7 separate regions of the Homo sapiens genome follow, and all the other regions are linked to region 3. Evidence: promoter capture Hi-C in 16 types of primary human blood cells and fetal thymus (Javierre and others, 2016). All regions are on one chromosome and are shown on one strand. Each heading gives the region's core, a stretch centred on a gene start or on the middle of the fragment in contact. The rest is flanking DNA. Distances are from core to core; before and after follow the strand shown.

The links. Contacts are between HindIII fragments. The CHiCAGO score rates a contact against its expected background, and 5 or more counts as called.
Region 1: a fragment that was not itself captured here is called in contact with the fragment with the promoter of DEPDC4 in region 3 in 1 of 17 cell types (fetal thymus); the score reaches 5.7 in fetal thymus.
Region 2: a fragment that was not itself captured here is called in contact with the fragment with the promoter of DEPDC4 in region 3 in 1 of 17 cell types (activated CD4 T cells); the score reaches 7.1 in activated CD4 T cells.
Region 4: a fragment that was not itself captured here is called in contact with the fragment with the promoter of DEPDC4 in region 3 in 6 of 17 cell types (naive CD4 T cells, fetal thymus, total CD4 T cells and 3 more); the score reaches 8.9 in naive CD4 T cells.
Region 5: a contact is called between a fragment that was not itself captured here and the fragment with the promoter of DEPDC4 in region 3, in 3 of 17 cell types (naive CD8 T cells, activated CD4 T cells and fetal thymus). The highest score is 8.0, in naive CD8 T cells.
Region 6: a contact is called between a fragment that was not itself captured here and the fragment with the promoter of DEPDC4 in region 3, in 2 of 17 cell types (non-activated CD4 T cells and total CD4 T cells). The highest score is 5.8, in non-activated CD4 T cells.
Region 7: a contact is called between a fragment that was not itself captured here and the fragment with the promoter of DEPDC4 in region 3, in 3 of 17 cell types (fetal thymus, total CD4 T cells and activated CD4 T cells). The highest score is 5.4, in fetal thymus.

The regions. Positions count from the first base shown.
Region 1 is chr12:98,490,224-98,493,312 of GRCh38, forward strand. The region is part of intron 3 of LINC02453 (long intergenic non-protein coding RNA 2453); the gene reads right to left. Among named protein-coding and RNA genes, the nearest start is that of TRD-GTC1-1, 12 kb to the right of the region's middle. RefSeq lists a silencer at 308-602. The HindIII fragment of the contact is 2,331 bases long and covers 320-2,650 here.
Region 2 is chr12:98,534,030-98,537,104 of GRCh38, forward strand. The region is part of intron 3 of TMPO (thymopoietin); the gene reads left to right. Among named protein-coding and RNA genes, the nearest start is that of TMPO-AS1, 19 kb to the left of the region's middle. The HindIII fragment of the contact is 2,487 bases long and covers 426-2,912 here.
Region 3 is chr12:100,265,446-100,268,328 of GRCh38, forward strand. It overlaps DEPDC4 (DEP domain containing 4), which reads right to left and starts at 1,634. Exons shown (of 10, transcript NM_001364818.2): 1 at 1,475-1,634. The coding sequence starts at 1,631. It overlaps SCYL2 (SCY1 like pseudokinase 2), which reads left to right and starts at 1,732. Exons shown (of 18, transcript NM_017988.6): 1 at 1,732-2,347. RefSeq lists enhancers at 1,477-1,556, 2,227-2,296, 2,307-2,366 and silencers at 1,927-1,976, 2,077-2,156. The HindIII fragment of the contact is 4,398 bases long and covers 1-2,581 here.
Region 4 is chr12:102,122,355-102,125,470 of GRCh38, forward strand. It overlaps PARPBP (PARP1 binding protein), which reads left to right. Exons shown (of 11, transcript NM_017915.5): 2 at 1,532-1,687. The coding sequence starts at 1,535. Among named protein-coding and RNA genes, the nearest start is that of PARPBP, 3.7 kb to the left of the region's middle. The HindIII fragment of the contact is 1,013 bases long and covers 748-1,760 here.
Region 5 is chr12:98,507,768-98,510,820 of GRCh38, forward strand. No RefSeq gene overlaps it. Among named protein-coding and RNA genes, the nearest start is that of TRW-CCA4-1, 5.0 kb to the left of the region's middle. RefSeq lists an enhancer at 602-1,145. The HindIII fragment of the contact is 8,186 bases long and covers 1-3,053 here.
Region 6 is chr12:102,048,408-102,051,418 of GRCh38, forward strand. All of the region lies in intron 2 of WASHC3 (WASH complex subunit 3), which reads right to left. Among named protein-coding and RNA genes, the nearest start is that of WASHC3, 12 kb to the right of the region's middle. The HindIII fragment of the contact is 1,017 bases long and covers 1,104-2,120 here.
Region 7 is chr12:98,638,484-98,641,338 of GRCh38, forward strand. All of the region lies in intron 1 of IKBIP (IKBKB interacting protein), which reads right to left. Among named protein-coding and RNA genes, the nearest start is that of IKBIP, 4.9 kb to the right of the region's middle. The HindIII fragment of the contact is 4,214 bases long and covers 1-2,855 here.

The DNA.
Region 1 (3,089 bases), core at 235-2,734, 1.8 Mb before region 3:
CAAAATGTGTCAAAAATATATATATATTTTTTGGGGTAAACTACTTCAATTTACTTCAGGGCCTGCTGTCTGTCATGTTGGTATCTTACTGCTACAAAAAGCCTTCTTTGTCAGACTTATGTTAATGCTGGTCAGATGTGCCTGAATCCCAAAGGGACTCTGTCCCAAAGGGAGGAGAGTATAATGAGGCTTGTCTGACCACCTGTTCCCATCATGACATGAACTAGCGTTTCAGGTAACTTTGGAATGCCCCTGGACAAGGAGGCATCCATTCAACTGATTGGGGAGCTTAGAATTTTATTTTTGGTCTACATGGTAAAGCTTAAAGTTGCGGAAATCATTATCCTCAGTCAAGCTAAAGCCTAGGTATCCAGACCTCTCTTTCACCTAATTTATTTGCAATTAATCCAAAGTTCTAGGCCAGGCACAGTGACTCACACCTGTAAACCCAGTCCTTTGGGAGGCGGAAGCATGGAGGATCACCCGAGGCCAGGAATTCAAGGCTGCAGTGAGCTAAGATTGCACCACTGCTCTCCCGCCTGGGTGACAGAGCAAGACCCTGTCTCTAAAAGAAATTTTTAAAACAAATAACAAAGTACTGGTTTATGCTGTATTTATAAAACAACATATGTAGTAAGATTTTCTTAGTTTTAGAACCCAGAAAGCTGTGCCAAATGCTTTGAGAGTTGACTTATTTCCTATTAGGTTTTTTAAATACTTGCAGTCCAGATACTGCTTTTAATTTTTTAAAAAACAGTATCCATACTTACAGGCTCTGATTAAGTTTCAAAGACTAAGCCTGCCATGCTTGTCGGTGTGTGATTCCTTCCTCTAAGATTCCAGACATTCCCGTCTCCAGGCATCACTGTGTCGGGGGAGCGCTGTGTGAAAATGGCTGTGATCTTTGTGCGGTTTGTCCGGTTATACCTCACTGGGACACCAGAGGGCGCAAGGAGGGCCAGCACTTGTTTTTCTTTAAATCTCGAATCAAAGTCCATGCAGAGAACAACAAAAGACCCGGAACACAGGGGCCTTGAGACAAAGGGACTCAGGGGAAAAGGCTGCACGCCCTGTTTTACTGAAGTGGAATTTGCTTCTTCACCCTCCTCACCTCCTCACCTCCTCCCCACCTTAAGGAACTAGAAATAAACAACTTAAGCTGCAAAATAATGAAATCTGGCTAACAAGGAAAACCAAACTAGAATACATTACTCAACATGTCATAGGCTAAGAGGACTATCACAAATGTACATTTGAGCTATTTGCTTTGCCTAATATTAATAACTTTAAAGAAAATTTTATTGTTTGCTTTTCTGAGTTCAATATATGCACATAGTAGAAAATTTAGAAAAGGTGGAATAGCAAAAAGAACAGCGATCATCAACACACTCTTAACCCAGATATAACTACTTTTAATATCTTCAGCTACTTCTTTCCAGATGTTTTCTTCTTTCTTTCTTCCTTTTTTTTTTTTTTTTTTTTGAGACGGAGTCTCACTCTGTCCCCATGCTGGAGTATAATGGCGCGATCTAGGCTCACTGCAACCTCCGCCTCCCAGATTCAAGTGATTCTCCTGCCTCAGCCTCCCGAGTAGCTAGGATTATAGGCACCCACCACCACGCCCAGCTAATTTTTGTATTTTTAGTAGAGACGGGGTTTCACTCTGTTGGCCAGCCTGGTCTCGAACTCCTGACCTCAAGTGGTCCTCCCGCCTCAGCCTCCCAAAGTGCTGGGATTACAGGCATGAGCCACCGCACCCAGCCACCAGACGTTTCCAGTACTTACAAATGCATAGAAAAAAAATGGGATTCTGCGTGCTATTTTGTGCTGGTTCTCTTCTTATTTTCTAGATCACTAACTTCATTTTATTGATAAATTCTGATAATAAAACTTTGCTAATCATATGAGTTAATCACAGGTAGGAGAATAAGAAATTTCAAAAGCTACAGGCAGCTTTTTTCCCAAAATAGCAGCAACTTGAATGCCAGACCTGAGTCATGCATTTGAAGCAGAAGTTTTTCTGTTGCTTTGTGTTTAGAAAACACGGAAAGACTAAAGAAAAGGCCTGTCGCAGTGGCTCACACCTGTAATCCCAGCACTTTGGAAGTCCAAGGCGGATCACAAGGTCAGGAATTTGAGACCAGCCTGGTCAACATGGTGAAACCCTATCCCTATTAAAAATACAAAAATTAGCCAGGCATGGTGGCCCGCACCTGTAGTCCCAGCTAATCGGGCAGCTGAGGCATGAAAATTGCTTGAACTTGGGAGGCGCAGGTTGCAGTGAGCCAAGGTCACACCACTGCACTCCAGCCTGGGTGACAGAGTGAGACGGGTCTCAAAAAAAAAAAAAAAATCCAAAGAAAAGAAGTAGAAACTGTTCCATCCCACCCCAAACAGGCTGAATAATTTGTCCTTCTGGGTAGCCTGAGGACTGAATGCCAAAGGGCCAGGGGGTGTGGGTCACCAGGACCCTTTGTTCCTCACACTGGGGCTAGTGTTTGCCTCAAAGCTAGACAGATCAGTAAAGCTATTAACCGGGATAGGTCAGCAGGTGGTCAGTAGGGCAGGAAAAAAGTCAGGAAAACGGAGGTCACTGATCTCCTGTTGGGTTGGGGCCAATGTTGGCAGGCAGGTTCCTTAAAGGACAGGAAGCTTAGGCCAGCCCAGGAACAGATAACTCTAAGGAAAGTGATGGCAAGATCTGAGGCCCTGAAAACCTCTGAGGGACACCTAATCACTAAGCCCACAGATTCCTTAATTTACAGCAACAGATAAAGGTGATGTTCTCGGCCACAGGAATTTAGTTAAATCACTGGAGCTGTCTGGCCTCAGTTTCCTTATCTGTATAACGAAAGGATCAAGAAGATAGGTAAGGTTCCTGTCAGTTCCTCAAAGATTGTGATGTTTAATTCTCCCCAGTCATGCATTATAATGAAAGGTGAAGACATTTCCTGCCCCCTGCCACTCCAGTCCCCTAAGCAGCAGCCCCTCCACCATATACTCTTTCCCGCATTGCCACTTTTCCCAAATTGCCACATGCTCTGAGCCTTTGTATTAATGTTTCTCTGTTCCCTAAGTGCTGGAAAACA
Region 2 (3,075 bases), core at 419-2,918, 1.7 Mb before region 3:
GGCTATGCAGGCAGACATTAGTCAAGCTGCACAGATTCTTAGCTCAGATCCTAGTCGTACCCACCAAGCGCTTGGGATTCTGAGCAAAACATATGATGCAGCCTCATATATTTGTGAAGCTGCATTTGATGAAGTGAAGATGGCTGCCCATACCATGGGAAATGCCACTGTAGGTCGTCGATACCTCTGGCTGAAGGATTGCAAAATTAATTTAGCTTCTAAGAATAAGCTGGCTTCCACTCCCTTTAAAGGTGGAACATTATTTGGAGGAGAAGTATGCAAAGTAATTAAAAAGCGTGGAAATAAACACTAGTAAAATTAAGGACAAAAAGACATCTATCTTATCTTTCAGGTACTTTATGCCAACATTTTCTTTTCTGTTAAGGTTGTTTTAGTTTCCAGATAGGGCTAATTACAAAATGTTAAGCTTCTACCCATCAAATTACAGTATAAAAGTAATTGCCTGTGTAGAACTACTTGTCTTTTCTAAAGATTTGCGTAGATAGGAAGCCTGGTACAAACAATTTAACGCTTTCTAGATCACATATTAGTCTCTAAGTTGTTTTCTGTTTCCTGCTTTACTTATGTTTTTACAATTCTCCAAAACTAAGAAAATTCTAATTAGGATATAAGGAGTATTTACTGTTCAATAGAATAATATGCATCCTCCTTTATACCTAGGACAGAATTAAACATTTGTTACACATTCAGAACAGTGATGTTGTTCTTTTTGATACTTTTATCTCAGTATCTTTTCACGTTCCATAACTTGTCCATATTTTTGCTCATATTTTCTTACTTTTCTTTGTTATTTATTCATGTCTGCAACATCAATCATAGTAGTCTAGATCAATGCAACTCAAAGCACCAGTCTACAAACTGTTACTTATCCACAGGCAAGATAAGCATGCACAAGAATTTAAATCTAGAGATACTTTTTAGGTCAATGACAGGATTTGATTTTTTAGCAAAATTTTATTAATAGCTAAAGCAATGTATTGATTTACACTCTGATGCAAGTAATTTATCTCTTCATTGACTGGTAGCAACCAATTCATGGACCAGTACCATGGACCACACTTTGAGAAACACTTCTTTGGATAATAATAGATATCCTGGGATAGTGCATGTTCACCATCTATTTTGTCAGATAATGGGGCCTTTTAAAAAATAATACTTTGCTTTCATGATATATTGTATTTTGTGGAAAGTTAAGTTTAGCAATATAGACTCTAAAAGCAAATTAAATTTTTTTAAGCCATAAGAAATTATACTATATCCCAGTATCTGTATGTCTGTATAAAGCAGTGTATTATCATGTTTTCATTTCTGTGATTGTAAGTTAAGAGTCTTAACTGCAGAGGTATTGTGGAAAGTAGTAGCCTTAAGCATAATAAAATATGGTCTCTTGGGTACTCCCTCTGGCCATTACCACATTCTTAGATTATATGTGTCCATCTTTGCAGCTTTCTGAGAGTAATTTTATTTGTTGTCTTCTGAAATGTACATGTATACATGTACCTACTGAGTGCTATGTGATTTTTAAAAATGTATTACTGTAGAATGCTTCTGCAAATTCAATAAAGTTGTTAAATTTGAACAGTGTTGTGTGGTCTCCAGAAACATGTTGTTCTGTGTGCTTTATTCTTGGAGTTGCAACAAGTTAAATATTTGTATATGAACACCCCTTTTCCATTTCATCATTGAAACTCACTTTGACATTTCAGTGGTATAATTGAAAATATTCTGATTATGGTATGGTTTTTCTTCTGTTTGAGGACCATGTTTTTATTGACTGTTGGAATCTAAATTTATAAGAGGAATTAATCTGTAACCAGATACCTTATTCGTTTAACCGATTTCTATTCCACTACTAATGGTTTTTTTTACTTTGTGCTTTCTAGTTCTTAGATTCTGAGTTAACAAAGCATAAAATAGATTTTATATTGCTGGGGGTTGTACCAAACATAGATACATTGACAGATCCATTGATAGAAGTGTTGGGAGATGGACTTGAAATCTTAGTCCTAAATAAAGACTGAACTGTTTAAACTAACTTGATAAAAATCACTGTTCGTTTTTGGGAACCTGCAAGTATTAAATAGATTCTGTACTAACTAGTATTAACACTGGAAAGTTAGCAAGACACATATAGATGTCTTGACCACTTTTTCACACAAGTTCAGAGTTCATGTAAAACTTTAGAATTGACTTCCTTTCTGTCTCTTCAGTAAGAAAGTAATCTAACTTAAATTTTTGGTAGTAGAAGTTTTAGAAATAACAACTGACTAATTTTGCTATACCATGATAAATGTCTACAAAAAGGGATTTTTTTTTTTTTGAAATGAAGTTTCGCTCTTGTCCCCAAAGCTGGAGTGCAATGGTGTGATCTCAGCTCGCTGCAACCTCCGCCTCCCAGGTTCAAGCAATTCTCCTGCCTTAGCCTCCTGAGTAGCTGGGATTACAGGTGTCTGCCACCAACCCTGGCTAATGTTTGTATTTTTAGTAGAGACGGGGTTTCACCATGTTGGCCAGGATGGTCTTAAGCTGACCTCAGGTGATCCGCCCACCTCGGCCTTCCAAAGTGCTGGGATTACAAGCGTGAGCCACCATGCCCTGCCAGGGATGTTAACTAAAATCAGTCTTTTCAAAACCTAGATCTTCAAATGATGATGAATTTAAGACTAGGAGACTGGAATATTGAAGCCTATTAAAAAATACATATCCTTGCGTTGTTAGGTTAATAACTATCATGGTGACAAGTGTATAAGTATTGGCTTCTTTTCAAAGAAATGTTATTTTTATTATAAGGACTGGGACGAGAAGTGACCTGTGATTGGTCGTATTTTTCTGTGAACAAGATTCCTTCTTTACCTGAGTTGTACCTAGGTTTTTTATAACTACATCAAAAAAGCTTTTATATTGTACTTATTAATGTTATGGCAGTTACTTATAGAAGCTTGGTACTATATGGATTTTTTTCATTTTTAAACTTTCCCTTCTATGTTCCAAATTTTAATTTAGTAAGTCAACCTTTGCTGTACAGTAGTAGTATACTGTATGGACAAAACAATG
Region 3 (2,883 bases), core at 384-2,883:
TTTAGCTGGGCATGGTGTCGCACGCCTGTAATCCCAGCTACTTGGGAAGCTGAGGCAGGAGAATTGCTAGAACCAGGAGGTGGAGGTTGCGGTGAGCCGAGATCACGCCATTGCACTCCAGCCTGGGCAAGGGAAAAAAAACAGTCTATTACCTGAAAAAAACAGTTAAATAAATTATGGTATACCCTTACTATAGAATAGTAGCCAGCCATTAGAAAGAATGAAGTAGAGCTATGTTTATAGTGTGCAAGGATCTCATTAAGTAGGGAAAAAGAAAAACCCAAAACAAAAATTTTTTAAAAATGAGCTGAGCAGAACAACTTGTATATTATTATCCTACTTAGGTAAAAATGAATTCCCAACCTATGTAAAAATGTATGTAAATAAATAGAAAGATCTGGAAGAATAAACTTCAAACGAGTAACCTTGGGGAAGAAGGATTGTAATGGTGGCTGATGAAAGAGGATGTACCCTTTTAAAGTGTACAATTCAGTGTTTCTAGTACATTCACAAAGTTGTGCAGCCATCACTATTATCTAATTTCAGACCATTGCATCATTCCACAAAGAAACCTATAGTTCGCAGTCATTCTTCATTCTTCCGTACCCCAGTAAAATTTTAATTAAAATTAAATTTAATTAAAATTAATTAAAAAAATTAAAGAATGATAAGGGAATAACTTAGAACTTCTAGAATGTTTTTTCTAGATTTGCAGGGGGAAGTGGGTAGAATCCAAGAACTTAAGCTCTCTTCTCCAACTATGCATAACCGCAAAAGTATGCCCAACTATACATATGTTTACGATAAAATGACAGAAATAAAAATCCACCACCCTCAAATTCCTTCTGTAACAGAAGTTACCCGTCTAATCACTCAAGAAATCTTATCCCCAGACATTGTGGGCAGAGCGGAGACTGAGGAGGGGAGGCCAGAAAGTGATGGGCGGAGGTGGGCAGGAGGGTACTCGACGGGGTAGGTGGAAAATACAGCGGTACAGCCTGTTTTCCATAGACAGTCTACCTCTCTAACCTTCATTAAACAAGTAGGCTAGATTAAAGAAATAACTCCTCTAGCTCAAGGAATTTGCCCTCTAGTACATTAACCCCTTGTTGCTGTAAGTGTAGCCTAGGGACCAGCAGCATTGGTGCCATCTGGACATGTATTAGAAACGCAGATTATCAGACCCTACTCCTCAATCAGAATTTGCACTTTCACAAGATCCTAGGGATTCGTATGTATATTAAAGTTTGAGAAAAAACGCTTTCCTGCACGCTCCAAGGGCACTTCACCACAGTAACCCCTAAAAAGCCTCAGTCCTGGGTCCCCCAGTCCAGTGCCTGGTAGGGCAGGAAGGGGGCGGGGCTAGGAAATGGGCGGGGCCCTGGACCAATGAGGAGCAGAGTCCCAGCCGCCTGCTCCCTTCAGCTGCCCCCTCCACCTTCACTGCACATTTGGCTAGGATATACAGGGCTACCTGTCCTCCTTTTCCGGCAGAAGCCATCTCTACGGTTCCTGGAACTTGGCCCGTTCAGCCCTGGGCCCGGAAGCTCGTTCTGACTGACAAGTCTACGGAACCTCGGAGTCAAAAGAACCGCCATAAGCTCGCGCGCTGGCTCCTCCCCTGGCACCATAGCCCCGCCCCACCTGACACCCGGGGCGGAGAGAAGTACTGGCTCCGCCTCTTCCGAACCGGCAGGAAGTGACGTCATGCCCCCGGCCGGCAGGTCTTTTAGTCTTTTTCCCCCTCCCTTACTCTTCGTCCCCGGTCCCTCCCCTCCCCACCCCTTTCCTTCTAGCTCCGACGTTTGCGGCCGCGGGGGCGGCGGAGGATATGGAGTAAAGCCAGAGTCAGTGGCCAGGCACGAAGGCAGAGCAGGAACAGCCAGGAGGCGTTTATTAGGGGGGCGGGGGGAAAGAGCCCCAGCACCGCCCCTCCTGGAAGAAGGAAGAGGTAAGTGACCGGCCGCCGGCACCGACCGACCTCCCTCACCGGCGGCTCTCTCGCCTGGGCTCCCGGAGCCGGCGAGGAGGGAATGGAGGACTCGCGCCCGGGTTAGGCCTCCCAGGGCCGCTCAGGCTGGTGGGTGTTGCCTGGTGACGGGCCTGCCGGCGGCCGGCCGGGCGATCGGCGGTCGGCGCCCGCGCAAAGCGGGGCTGGACGAGCAGCGAGCTCCGGGGAGCGGATCCGAGAGGGCCGAGTCCTCGAAAGAGGCCTTGAGGCGACGGGAGACCCGGGATCGAAGTCAGCTGCCGGAGGGAGAGCCCCCCATGCCGGCTCGAGAGCTCGGGTTTCGGTGGTGGAGAACGTAGTACCTTTCGGGGACATTGGACACTACTCTAGGACCGGGTGAGAGAGTTCACCTCAGTTCTGAGGTCCGGAATCCGGTAGCCTGGGTCACCAGCCAGGGCCCTGCCGCCCGCCGTCCTTCTCTGACAGTAGCTTTAGTTCTGGAATGGAAGGTTATTGTGTGTGAGGTGGGTGGGGCAGGGGTTTTGTTAAGAGAAAAAACCCCACGGTTACTCCTGCAGTCTTGTTTTTCTAAACGGGAGAATACGGATGGAGGAGGGTTTAGACCGATAAAGCTTGCAAAAACTTATTGGACTTTGAGCACATACCTGTGATCCGTAATTAAGGAGGCCATATTATCAAATCCACCCTCTAAGGCACTCGAGGAGGCTCCAGACAAGCTGCTTAAAAGCGCTATGCCTGTAGTGACTTCATTGGAAGGTGTCAACTATTTTTTAGTACGTCAAACTCAGGAATTATTTGTGATGACACTTTCTAAAAACATTGGATACTATGAGTGAGTTTTCTAAGTAGCCTATCTCCGTTCTGAAAAATAAATAGTTTAGCAAAAATGCTCCAAATCAGCCTGCCACTGT
Region 4 (3,116 bases), core at 4-2,503, 1.9 Mb after region 3:
TGTCTATAATTTAATTATATTGCAAGTGGCATGTATCTTTGCTCTTGATTATACAAACCAAAGTAAACATCTAGGATTCTGTTTATGCCACATAAAAATAGAAGAAAAGGATAGCAGAAGGAGTCAGGAAATGGAATAAGTACAGGAAAATACCCAAAATAAGATGATGGGCATGTGAGTATGTTGAGACTTGAGTACTTAAAGTAGGAAAAAAACTTTTAGCAGGCATGTCTGTAAACTCAGAGAAAGGAATTGGATGCCTTATATAGTCTTGGGTATATGAAACATTGGCACTACCTCAAATTATTTTGAAAGGCTTTTGTGTGCATCAGGAGAAGTTACTTAACATGATGCTTTAAGAACACAGCTTATAGAGTTAGACATATTAAGTTTATGCTGTTTGTCCACTTACAAGCTGAGTGACGTGGAGGTTATTAGGTAAAATAAGGATAATAACAGACCTGTCTTATTGGACACTTATGACAGTCGAGTGAGGTAATCAATATTAAGCTTTTGAAAAGTATCTCCACCAAGTTAGCTCCTAAATATTAGTTATTTTATTGGTTATGTAGTACGGTGTAACAAACCATTTCAAAAGTTAAGGTTTTAAAATAACCATTTCCTTCTGATTCTGTGGATCAGCAGTTTGGGTGGGACACTGCTTGGTGATACTCTAGTGGTCATACAGGACACAATTCCTCCTGTTGTAATAGGTGGTGACAACACATGTGAAATGTCTACCAGGGAAGCTTATTAGAGACTTAATGCCCAGGGTTTTTATTGGGGGCTAAATGCAAAGGCATCCACTGTCTGACATGTACCAAAATTCCAGACTCGCAAGTGTTTAGCATAAACTATATTGTTTGTATGAACAGTTTAGCACAGTGAACCACTCTTACTGGAAACACTCCTGAAATCTAAGCTCCCAAACTGGACTCCAGCTTCAAAGGAGAGCATTCAGGCCTATTGTATTAGTACTTCTGCACACACCACTTAAGGCCTAAGCTCAGAACTCCCACAGCGTCATTCTTGCCACATTCTATTGGTTAAATCAAGTCACAAGCCTGGTCCAGATTCAAAAGGGTAGAAAAATAGGCCACCTCTTTTGGGACAACGTAGGATGGGAGGAAATTGGCTTTTTAGGTTTTTTTTTTTTTTTCCCAATTTATCAGACTTATTACCTATCTCAAAACAAATATATATATTTAAATACAGCTTTAATTAGGTATATTTGTAATTATAAGTTTGCAGTAAATTTGCATGTCTGTTTTTGTGTGAATTTTCAGAATTGAAGGCTACATTTTGTTCTTTCAGAAGGTTTGGCTTAAGAAACCAAAGGGGAGGGAAATATGATTGCGCAGAAATTGTATTATTTTGTTTTCCTAAATTTAATTAAAAGCAATCTTGGTAAATATGAAATGACCTCTCATTCACTATATGTTTTTCTCTATCTGTGCTTGCCTATACATGTTAAATGTTAATTTCAGGTTAACATAAGATACTTTAACTTTGTATTCTGTCCTACTTTAAGATAATGGCTGTGTTTAATCAGAAGTCTGTCTCGGATATGATTAAAGAGTTTCGAAAAAATTGGCGTGCTCTTTGTAACTCTGAGAGAACTACTCTATGTGGTGCAGACTCCATGCTCTTGGCATTGCAGCTTTCTATGGCGGAGAACAACAAACAGGTTGGTAAACTATATTTGGGTTAACTTGTTTTTTTAAAGCAAAATTTCATTGCTGCCCATTTGAATAAACTTAAGCTTAAGAATATTAATTTCTTTACATTATGTGCCCTTCTGTGATAATACACCATTTTCACAAATGCCTCTGTGTATCTGTGTCAGAATGTTATGATAGAATTTGAAATGAATTATTTCAAAATTAAGCTCTTATGTATGGTTATACACGGGACATGCATATTTGATGTTTAATAGGAAGATTTAGGATAAACATGTAACTATTATTATTGTGGTCAAATTATTTTTATTTAATAAGACTTTTTTCATTCCCTAAACTTTTAAAAACTACTGGCTCTTGTACCCCAATCCTGGAAATTCTTCCAATCTGCACCGGGATACTGGAAACTGCCTTTAAAAAATTTCCACAAAGTGATTCTTACTTAGGTAGCTTGAGCCAAACTAGCGTTTGGATTTAAGCCGTAGATTAAGGGTTAGAGGTGTTCAGATGAGAGAAGGATGAATGTAGGATAGAGTGGTAAGGAAAGGCTTTGTGATATTAGATAGATTTTAGATAAAGGAAGAGAAGGCTGTAGAGGAGGTATGATGAGGAAAGTCAGTTCAGAAGAAGGGTTCAGGGGAATCAAAGTCATGGTATGAACTTGGCAAAGATACTGGCTTGACTAGAGAAGAGGATTTTTGAAGGGTAGAATTAGCTTCAATGGGTCTGTTGGGCTAGATATTGAAATGACATTCTGATGAGTTATTTTAATTTTATATGTCAGTAGTTTCCAGATTTTTAGATTCCATAGACAGTAAAATTTCTAAAAAATTATTAGACACTGACAGATTTTAACCATTTCTCATTTTTGCAAATAAGGCCATTGAGAAAAAATAGTTACTATATACTATGATCATCATTTTGAAAAAGGAAGAATATTTTAACACTTAAAAATTAAAAAGTATAAAATCTTAAAACAGGGATAGTGTTTTCTACCTGTGAATAGTTGGCAGTTTTGCATATTTTAAACAATGCATGTTAAGATAAATTTTGAATCTCGAAAACAATGACAAAATGTTATTTTATTTTATGTAGTCAGTCATTTTTTGAACAAATATTGAGTTTTTACTGTGTGTTAGACATCATTGTAAAAATTGGGAATACAGTAATGAAAGAAGTCACTTCTTATGGAGTGAACCTTCTAGGGAGAGATAGCTAGTACTGTAAGATATTTAGTCTTTTAGGACATAATAAATGCTATTAATAATAGTGTTATTAATATGTACATAATAAACATACAGAAAACAATAAAACATGCGACTAAGGAATATGCAGATTTTGGGGTGAAAGGGTTGTTGGAATTTGAAATAGGGTGGTCAGGGAAGGCCTCACCTGGAAAGTACCATTTGAGCAAAGATTTGAAACAGGGGAGGGCAT
Region 5 (3,053 bases), core at 402-2,901, 1.8 Mb before region 3:
TTTCACCTGTTTAATAGCCTTGCTTTCTTTTCTGAGAGTATTTTAGTTACTTAAGTCCTGTGAAAGAAAAATCTCGGTGTTACTGGGGTCCCAATCCAGACCACAAGAGAGGGTTCTTGAACCTCACACAAGAAAGAATTCAAGGCGAGTCCATAAAATGAAAGCAAGTTTATTAGGTAAAGGAATAAAGAATGGCTACTCCATAGGCAGAGCAGCCCAGAGGGCTGCTGATTGCCCATTTTTGTGGTTATTTCTTCATTATATGCTAAACAAGGGGTGGATTATTCATGCCTCCCCTTTTTAGACCATATAGGGTAACCTCCTGACATTGCCATGGCATTTGTAAACTGTCATGGTGCTGGTGGGAGTGTAGCAGTGAGGACAACCAGAGGTCACTCTCATCGCCATCTTGGTTTTGGTGGGTTTTGGCAGGCTACTGCAACCTGTTTCACCAGCAAGGTCTTTATGACCTGTGTCTTTTTTTTTTTTTTTTTTTTTTTTTTTGAGACAGAGTCTCACTCTCGCCCAGGCTGGAGTGCAGTGGTGCAATCTCAGCTCACTGCAACCTCCACCTCCCAGGTTCAAGCAATTCTTCTGCCTCAGCCTCCTGAGTAGCTGGGACTACAGGCACGCGCCACCACGCCCAGCTAATTTTTGTATTTTTAGTAGAGACAGGGTTTCACCATGTTGGTCAGGCTGGTCTCGAACTCCTGACCTCGTGATCCACCTGCCTTGGCCTCCCAAAGTGCTGGGATTACAGGCGTGAGCCACCGTGCCCGGCCTATGACCTGTATCTTCTGCCGACCTCCTATCTCGTCTTGTGACTTAAAATGCCTTAACTGTCTGGGAATGCAGCCCAGTAGGTCTTTTCTTTTTTTTTTTTTTTTTTTTTTGAGACGGAGTTTTGCTCGTTGTCCAGGCTGGACTGCAATGGCGCGATCTTGGCTCACTACAACCTCCGCCTCCCGGGTTCAAGCGATTCTTCTGCCTCAGCCTCCTGAGTAGCTGGGATTACAGGCATGTGCCACCACGCCCAGCTAATTTTGTATTTTTAGTAGAGACAGGGTTTCTCCATGTTGATCAGGCTGGTCTCAAACTCCCGACCTCAGGTGATCCACCCACCTTGGCCTCCCAAAGTGCTGGGATTACAGGCATGGGCCACCGTGCACGGCCTTACCCACCCTTTTTTCAACATGGAGGTGCTGTGATTCAAACCCCTCTAACATCAGGACCCCAAAAATGACTAAGCCAAAGGGAAAGTCAAGCTGGGAACTGCTTAGGGCAAACCTGCCTCCCATTCTACTCCTAAAAAAAAAGATAGCTACTAAGATAAAAAAGCTATATATACCTCCCTCACAATTTGACCACAAAGAAATTCCTTGTGGACAAAGGACAGATAGAGATTTAAAAAGTCATCCCTCTGCTCATATGAGATAAATGCATATCTGATTGCCCTTTTGTTTCCCTAAGCCAGACTAACATAAGTGACTATTCCTGTAAATAGTGTATTCAGTGAAAGGCTAATCAGCAACTCAAAAGAATGCAACCATTGGTCTTTTATCTACCTATGACCTGGAACACCCCGGAGCCCCCCAACCCCCACTTGTATTAATAGCTGTCCCGCCTTTCTGGATGGGACCATTGTACATCTTAAACATATTGATTGATGTCTCATGTCTCCCTAAAATGTATAAAACCAAGCTGTGCCACACAACCTTGGGCACATGTCGTCAGGACCTCCTGAGGCTGTGTCATGGGTGTGTCCTTAACCTTGGCAAAATAAACTTTCTAAATTGATTGAGACCTGTCTCCGATTCTCTTGGTTTACAGAGCGATGTATTCTGGACGAACTAATAAAATTGAGCTTTTGGACACGCAGAATTGAAATGCAGACCTGAATTCTGATAAGCCAAATGGTTCTCCAACTTAGCACTCTCACTTAAAAAGAAAAATATGGTTTTAAAATCATATGTGTTCATTGTGGAAATCTAGGGAAATACAGACATATAAATAAAAAGAAAATAAGAATCACCTGTGCCTCACTATCCAAGAGAAAGTACTCCACTTTGATGTATATTATTTTTTTTCTTTTCTTTTCTTTTTTTTTTTTTTTTTTTTGCCTCCCCAATAGCTGGGAGTACAGGAGCACACCAGCATGCCAGCTAATTTTTTTTTTTTCTTTTTTTTTGAGACTGAGTTCCGCTCTTGCCCAGGCTGGAGTGCAATGGCGAGATCTTGGCTCACTGCAACCTCCGCCTCCCAGGTTCAGGTGATTCTTCTGCCTCAGCCTCCCAAGTAGCTGGGGATTACAGGTGCCCACCACCACACCTGGATAATTACTGTATTTTTAGTAGAGACAGGGTTTCGCCACGTTGGCCAGGCTGGTCTTGAACCCCTGACCTTGGGTGATCCGCCCGCCTCGGCCTCCCAAAGTGCTGGGATTACAGACGTGAGCCACCGTGCCCGGCCCCACCTAATTTTTGGTTATTTTTAGTAGAGACTGGGGTCTCCCTATGTTGCCCAGGCTGGTCTCAAACTCCTGAGCTCAAGGGATCCTCCCACCTCAGCCTTCCAAAGTACTGGGATTATAGGTGACAGCCACCAAGCCAGCCTCATATTCTTAAATGTCAAAACATGATTTTTTACTACTGTGCATTATTTTGTCATATGGATATATCATAAACAACCAATTCCTTACTATTGGAGATAGAGATTTTTTATTTTTTTCACCATTATAAATGAAGCAATAAATACCTTTATAAATGAATTCCACATTTGATTTTATCTTTAGAATAAATTATCAGAAATGGCTTAAGGGAGCTAAACTTTTTTTTTTTTTGAGAGACCGAGTCTCGTTCTGTTGCCCAGGCTGGAGTGCAATGGTGCCATCTCAGCTCACTGCAACCTCCGCCTCCCGGGTTCAAGGGATTCTCCCACCTCAGCCTCCCAAGTAGCTGGGATTACAGGCGCATGCCACCAGGCACGGCTAACTTTTGTATTTTCAGTAGAGAGGGGCTTCCACCATGTTGGTCAGGCTGGTCTCGAACTCCTGA
Region 6 (3,011 bases), core at 362-2,861, 1.8 Mb after region 3:
AAAAAAAATTAGCCAAGTGTGGTGGTGTGCGTCTGCAGTCCCAGCTACTCAGGAGGCTGAGGCAGGAGAATCGCTTGAACCTGGAAAGCGGACGTTGCAGTGAGCTGAGATCACGCCACTGCATTCCAGCTTGGGCGACGAGTGAGACTCCGTCTCAAAAGAAAAAAAAAAGAAAAAGAAAAAAAATCACAGTGGTTTTAGGATCTAAGACTGTCACCAATAGAAATCATAGTTTTTTTTTTAAATCACATCACAATTGCTGCAGATTTCCTTATACTTCAAAATTAAGGTTATTAGACATATGAAAGGATTATATAATTTAATGCTTTAATAAAGAACCTACTAGTATGTCATAGTTTTAAATTTTTTTAAGTATATAACTGGTTTCTTTTGTAATCCTATGCATTTTATTCTATCCACCTGAAAACATTAATTTGGTTTCACTAGACTGTCAAAGGGTCCATGGCATGATTAAGAAAGAACTACTTTTCAAAGATAATTCAGTATAATAAATGGTTTTGTATGTTCCAGTGTAATTATTGGTATAACATACCTGAATGTATACTTTTTAAAGAGCCATTGTCAGGTGAAAAGGTATACCTGGGTTCATTTATGGGCTGCTGAAGTTCATTTCTAAGATGTGTATGCTTGTGGCATTTTCCTTATACAATCCCCAGACCACTATAAAACAAGTTTTTCAATGCTAGCTATATTGACATTTGTGGGTGAAATATTCTTTGCTGCAGGGGACTGTCCTGAGCACTACAAGATGGGTAGCAGAATCTCTGGTCTCTATCCACTAAATGCTAGTAGCACTCCCCAGTTATTACAATCAAAGACACCTCTAGACATAGCCATATGTCCCCTGGTTGAGAGCCACTGCTCTAAATTATGGATGACTGTGGATATAACATAAGTAACATAATCGGTGACAGTAGCTGTTCTCACCTCTGAAAGTTTTAGCAAGAGGAAATGGAAAGGTAACAGTCTTTCCCATCCATTTAACCATCGTCTTCATGAAGACTGAAAACAAACTTGAAATGCTATGGTTTGGGATAACAGGGGAATTTACAAAGTCCCTGATATTTGTCAGATAAGCTGAAAGCTTGATTTACTACCCATGTATTTCCAAGGCAGTACATTTTATAAAGTTAAAAAAAAAAGGACAAAAGAAAGAAGGAAATATGGAGTTACTAGTTGAATATGGAAACAAAATAAAATGCTGGTTTTTCATGGTTGTAAAATATCTTGTTTATATATCCATTTCTCTAAAAGAGAAACAGTATTTTAAGATAATGGATCTCTTGGTATACCCCACTGTGTTGCGTGTGCCCCAGAAGCCAGAAAAGGAAGCAATGAATGGTTTTATTAGGTTGTGTCTGATACTTAAGCCCAGCAGTGGTTAAAGATATAAGAGCAAATAAGGATTTAAGCAAAATATTATCTGATTAAAGGTTAAGTCCAATGGCAGGCTAAAAAAATGAATGTAGAAGATAAGCACTAAAGAAACTTTCAGGTTATGTGACAATTCTCAGCACTTTTGCTTGTACCTAAAGATTTTAGAAAAAAGAAAAATTTCAGAATTTAAAAAAATTATTTAAAAATCCAGTATCTTAGGCATGTAATAAGTCTGAGTTTGGCTGAGGGTGCTTGTAATCCTAGTACTTTGGGAGGCCGAAGCAGGCAGATGAGCTCAGGAGTTCAAGACCAGCTTGGGCAACATAGGGAAACCCTGTCTCTACAAAAAATACAAAAAATTAGCCAGGTGTGGTGGCACGCACCTGTAGTTCCAGCTACTTGGGGCGCTGAGGCAGGAGGTCTAGGCTGCAGTGAGCTAAGTTCACTCCACTACACTCCAGCATGGGTGACAAAGTGAGACCCTGTCTGACAAAAAAACAACAAAAAAAGTTTGAATTAAAATAACATTCTGGCCAGGTACAGTGGCTCACGCCTATAATTCCAGCACTTGGGAGGCCGAGGCCGAGGGATCACTTAAGCCCAAGAGTTGGAGACCAGCCTAGATAATGTAGTAAGATGCCATCTCTAACACACACACACACACACACACACACACACACACACACAATTAGCCGGGTGTGGTGACACATGCCTATAGTCCAAGCTTCTAGGGAGGCTGAGGTGGGAGGATCACTTGAGCCCAGGAAGTTGAGGTTGCCCTGAGCTGTGATCACGCCACTGCACTCCAGCCTCGGTGATACAGCAAGACCCCGTCTCGGGGGGAAAAGAAAAGAAAAAAAAATTATTAAACAAACAAACAAAAAACCAAAGTAACACATTTGGCACTCCTGTTTATAAAGTACCTTTGACTTTAAAATTCACTATAAGGTTAAATGCTCAGGTTTCACCTGCAATATGCATAGAGCTTATGTTGCTTCCTGCCAACCCCTCAAAATTTGCAGTCCCAATGGATGACCATAAGATTTTGCTGACTAAAGCAAGAATAAAAATGCTCACTGGGGATTTGTGATGGAAGAGGAGATGACCCTAAGTACCTCTGTAATGTGGGTCTGATTCTACTACTTTCTCTGTCATCTAATCTCTCTTCTACTCTGGTGCCAATCACTGGAAGAGTTACAAAAGTAGCCTAATATGCAGAAAGTTTTTGCAAAGTTGAGTTCTTCACAGAATGCAGTTTTATACTCTTCTCTTTAATGAAGAACTCTAGAAACAGTGCCACTGATGAAGAAAGAACCCTAGCAATTTGTTTCAAACTTAATTCTGGCTTGAGGGTTTATCTGTGACTGAAGTTGTTTAAGGTTGGGTTTGGTTCAAACCAGATCCTGTCGGGGGGTGGGAAAAGTTTTCTTTTTCCTCCCAGTTCACTCTCAGTTCAAAAACTAACAGTTGAGGTTCCTCTTTTGTTGAGAGAAACAGTCAGTTGGTTCTTGTTTGAGGCTTTAAATAAATAAGGACTAGAGGCCTATTAGGCACTATTAACAAAAACATTTCAAAACACCAAAGTGACTTTACCTTGGGAGAAAATGGCACCT
Region 7 (2,855 bases), core at 284-2,783, 1.6 Mb before region 3:
AGTCTTGTCTTGAACTCCTGGGCTCAAGTGATCCTCCTGCCTTGGCCTCCCAAACTGTTGGGATTATAGGTGTGAGCCAGAGCACCCAGCCAATACTTCATAGGGTTGTAGTTTGTTTTTCGACAAGGTCTCATTCTGTTACCCAGGCTGGAGTACAGTAGCCTGATCATAGCTTACTGCAGCCTTGAACTCCTGGGCTCAAGTGATTCTCCCACCTCAGCCTCTCAAGTAGCTAGGACCACAGGTACATTACCACCACTGGCTAATTAAAAAAAAAAATTCTGTAGAGAGGAGATCTGGCTATTTTGTTTGTTTGTTCGTTTTTTGAGGCAGCTGAAGAGGAAGAGGTCTACAGTGACACAATCATAGTTCACTGCAGGTCAAACTCCCTGGGCTCAAGCGATCCTCTCGCCTTGGCCTCCTAAAATGCTGGGATTATAAGTGTGAGCCACCATGCCTGGCCGAGTTATTGTAGACATTAGTTATTGCTATTTATAAAAGCTCCTGGAACAATAGAGCCATAGCACATCAGCTATTTCCTTTAAGTACTGTGGCCCCTTTTTTTTCTCTTTTTGGAGATGGAGTCTCACTCTGTTGTCCAGGCTGAAGTGCAGTGGTGTGATCTCGGCTCACTGCAACTTCCGCCTCCTGGGTTCAAGTGATTCTTCTGCCTCAGCCTCCCAGCTAGCTGGGATTACAGGTGCCCATCAACAAGACCAGCTATCTTTCTTTTGGACTACTTTGTGCAGCTACTCTTCCATCCTTCCTACATGCCTATGATTGCATAAGGGAAGCAGGGTTCCCGACCACTTGCACTTGATAGAAGCCCCAGGCCTGTCCCCCTTTGAACACTAAGTATAAACTGGGTTGTGTTTATGGCAAATGAAGGATGGAATAGATGGATTAGACCACTTATAAATCACTAAATAAAAATAACTCTCGTTTTTGGGCCTCTTCTCACTATCATATCATATGGCCTTGTGGAAGAGTGAGATACAGGAGAAAGGGACCCAGGCTACTTTTAGCGTAGGCCTTACAAAAAGAATCTTCCTGACTCCTTCATGAGCCATTGCAGTCTATAGAGACCTCATACAGATCTATCTAGGGTCCTGTGATAATGAATGGTTTACATTTTCCTACAGTGCATGGTGGTAATTAATGGTGTGTGTTGCCTCTGAATAGCTCCTTTAGGAACGTTAAATGGTGGCAGACAGCTGACTGAGGACTTACAAATTCAGGATTTCCTCTGGCTCTATTTCAGCTTAATAATGAAAAAGAGGCAAATAACCAAAGGAAGCTGTTACGGACCTTCTGCAAGGAAAGAAGTTCCAGGGCCACTATTAGGGTCAGTACCCATTTAGCCCTATGTTTCATACCATCTATAGCCTCAGTTTTAGCACAATACCTAGTTTTCAAGAAAACCTTGACCATATTCCATTTTTAAGAAGCAGGACATTTAAATTATACCCTTGTCTTTTAGATAAAACTCTACTAACACAAAGAAAAAAGCTGGAAATGGAGTTAGCCAAGGTTTTACAGTATGATTTATAGAGAAAATTATATTGGATAATTAAAACAAAAACCAGAGTTATACAACTTGCTTAAAGAGCTTTTGACTTTTTGTACATAATTATAACAGATACTATAAAAAACTTTTATAAAGGCAATTTAGGCCAGGCACGGTGGCTCACGCCTGTAATCCTAGCACTTTGGGAGGCTGAGGTGGACAGATCACCTGAGGTTGGGAGTTTGACACCAGCTTGACCAATGGAGAAACCCTGTCTCTACTAAAAATACAAAATTAGCTGGGCGTGGTGGCGCACACCTGTAATCCCAGCTACTCGGGAGGCTGAGGCAGGAGAATTGCTTGAACCTGGGAGGTGGAGGTGGAGGTTGCGGTGAGCTGAGATTGCGCCACTGCACTCCAGCCTGGGCAACAAGAGCAAAACTCCATCTCTCAAAACAAAACAAAACAAAACAAAACAAAACAAAACAAAAAAGCAATTAAAAAATCTATTGAAGTTTCCATAAGAAACAAAATTTTCACAATGGAAATTCCAGCTGATTAAATTTCTATGTAATTAAATAAGCATGAGTGACAGGTTTTGTGTCTTGTTTAGTAATTTAACAACTTTTTAACTTTCTGAAAGTAGAATCACCTCAATTCTTACCTGAAAAATTTCTATAAGAGTTTAGAAAAGAGCTATGCAAACTGACACTCAAGCCATATGGGTTTGGGCAACTTATCTCCAGTGTTTATTGTCAAGATGACATAGGATATATCAGGCCTTTTTTTTTTTGCAGGGTCTCACTTTGTCACCCAGGCTGAGTGCTGTGGTGCAATCAAAGCTCACTGAAACCTCAAATTCCGGGGCTCAAGCAATCCTCCAACCTCAACCCCCCAAGTAGCTGGGACTACAGGCATGCGCCACCATGCCTGGCTAATTTTTTGTATTTTTTGTAGAGACAGGGTTTTACCATGTTGCCCAGGCTGGTCTTGAACTCCTGAGCTCAAGATCCGCCCAACTCGGCCTCCCAAAGTGCTGGGATTACAGGTGGGAGCCACCACACCTGGCCTATCAGGCCTTTATTTAGCAGAGAGAAGATATTAAAGCAACACACTTTTAAGTTTCTTATGTATTATTTCTCTTTTCTTTCCACATAGGAAATGGTCTGAAGACAATGATATAGTGTGATTCCTTGAAATCCTTCTTGGGCAGTGGAAGGGTTCAGATTTTTTCCCTCCAACTTAATCAGATGAAGAGTGAGAGTAAGCAGTATTTAAGAGTACACAGACAGGCACACATATGCACTTGTATTTTAACCACCAGGGCCGTGTCAGTACGGAAAGCATT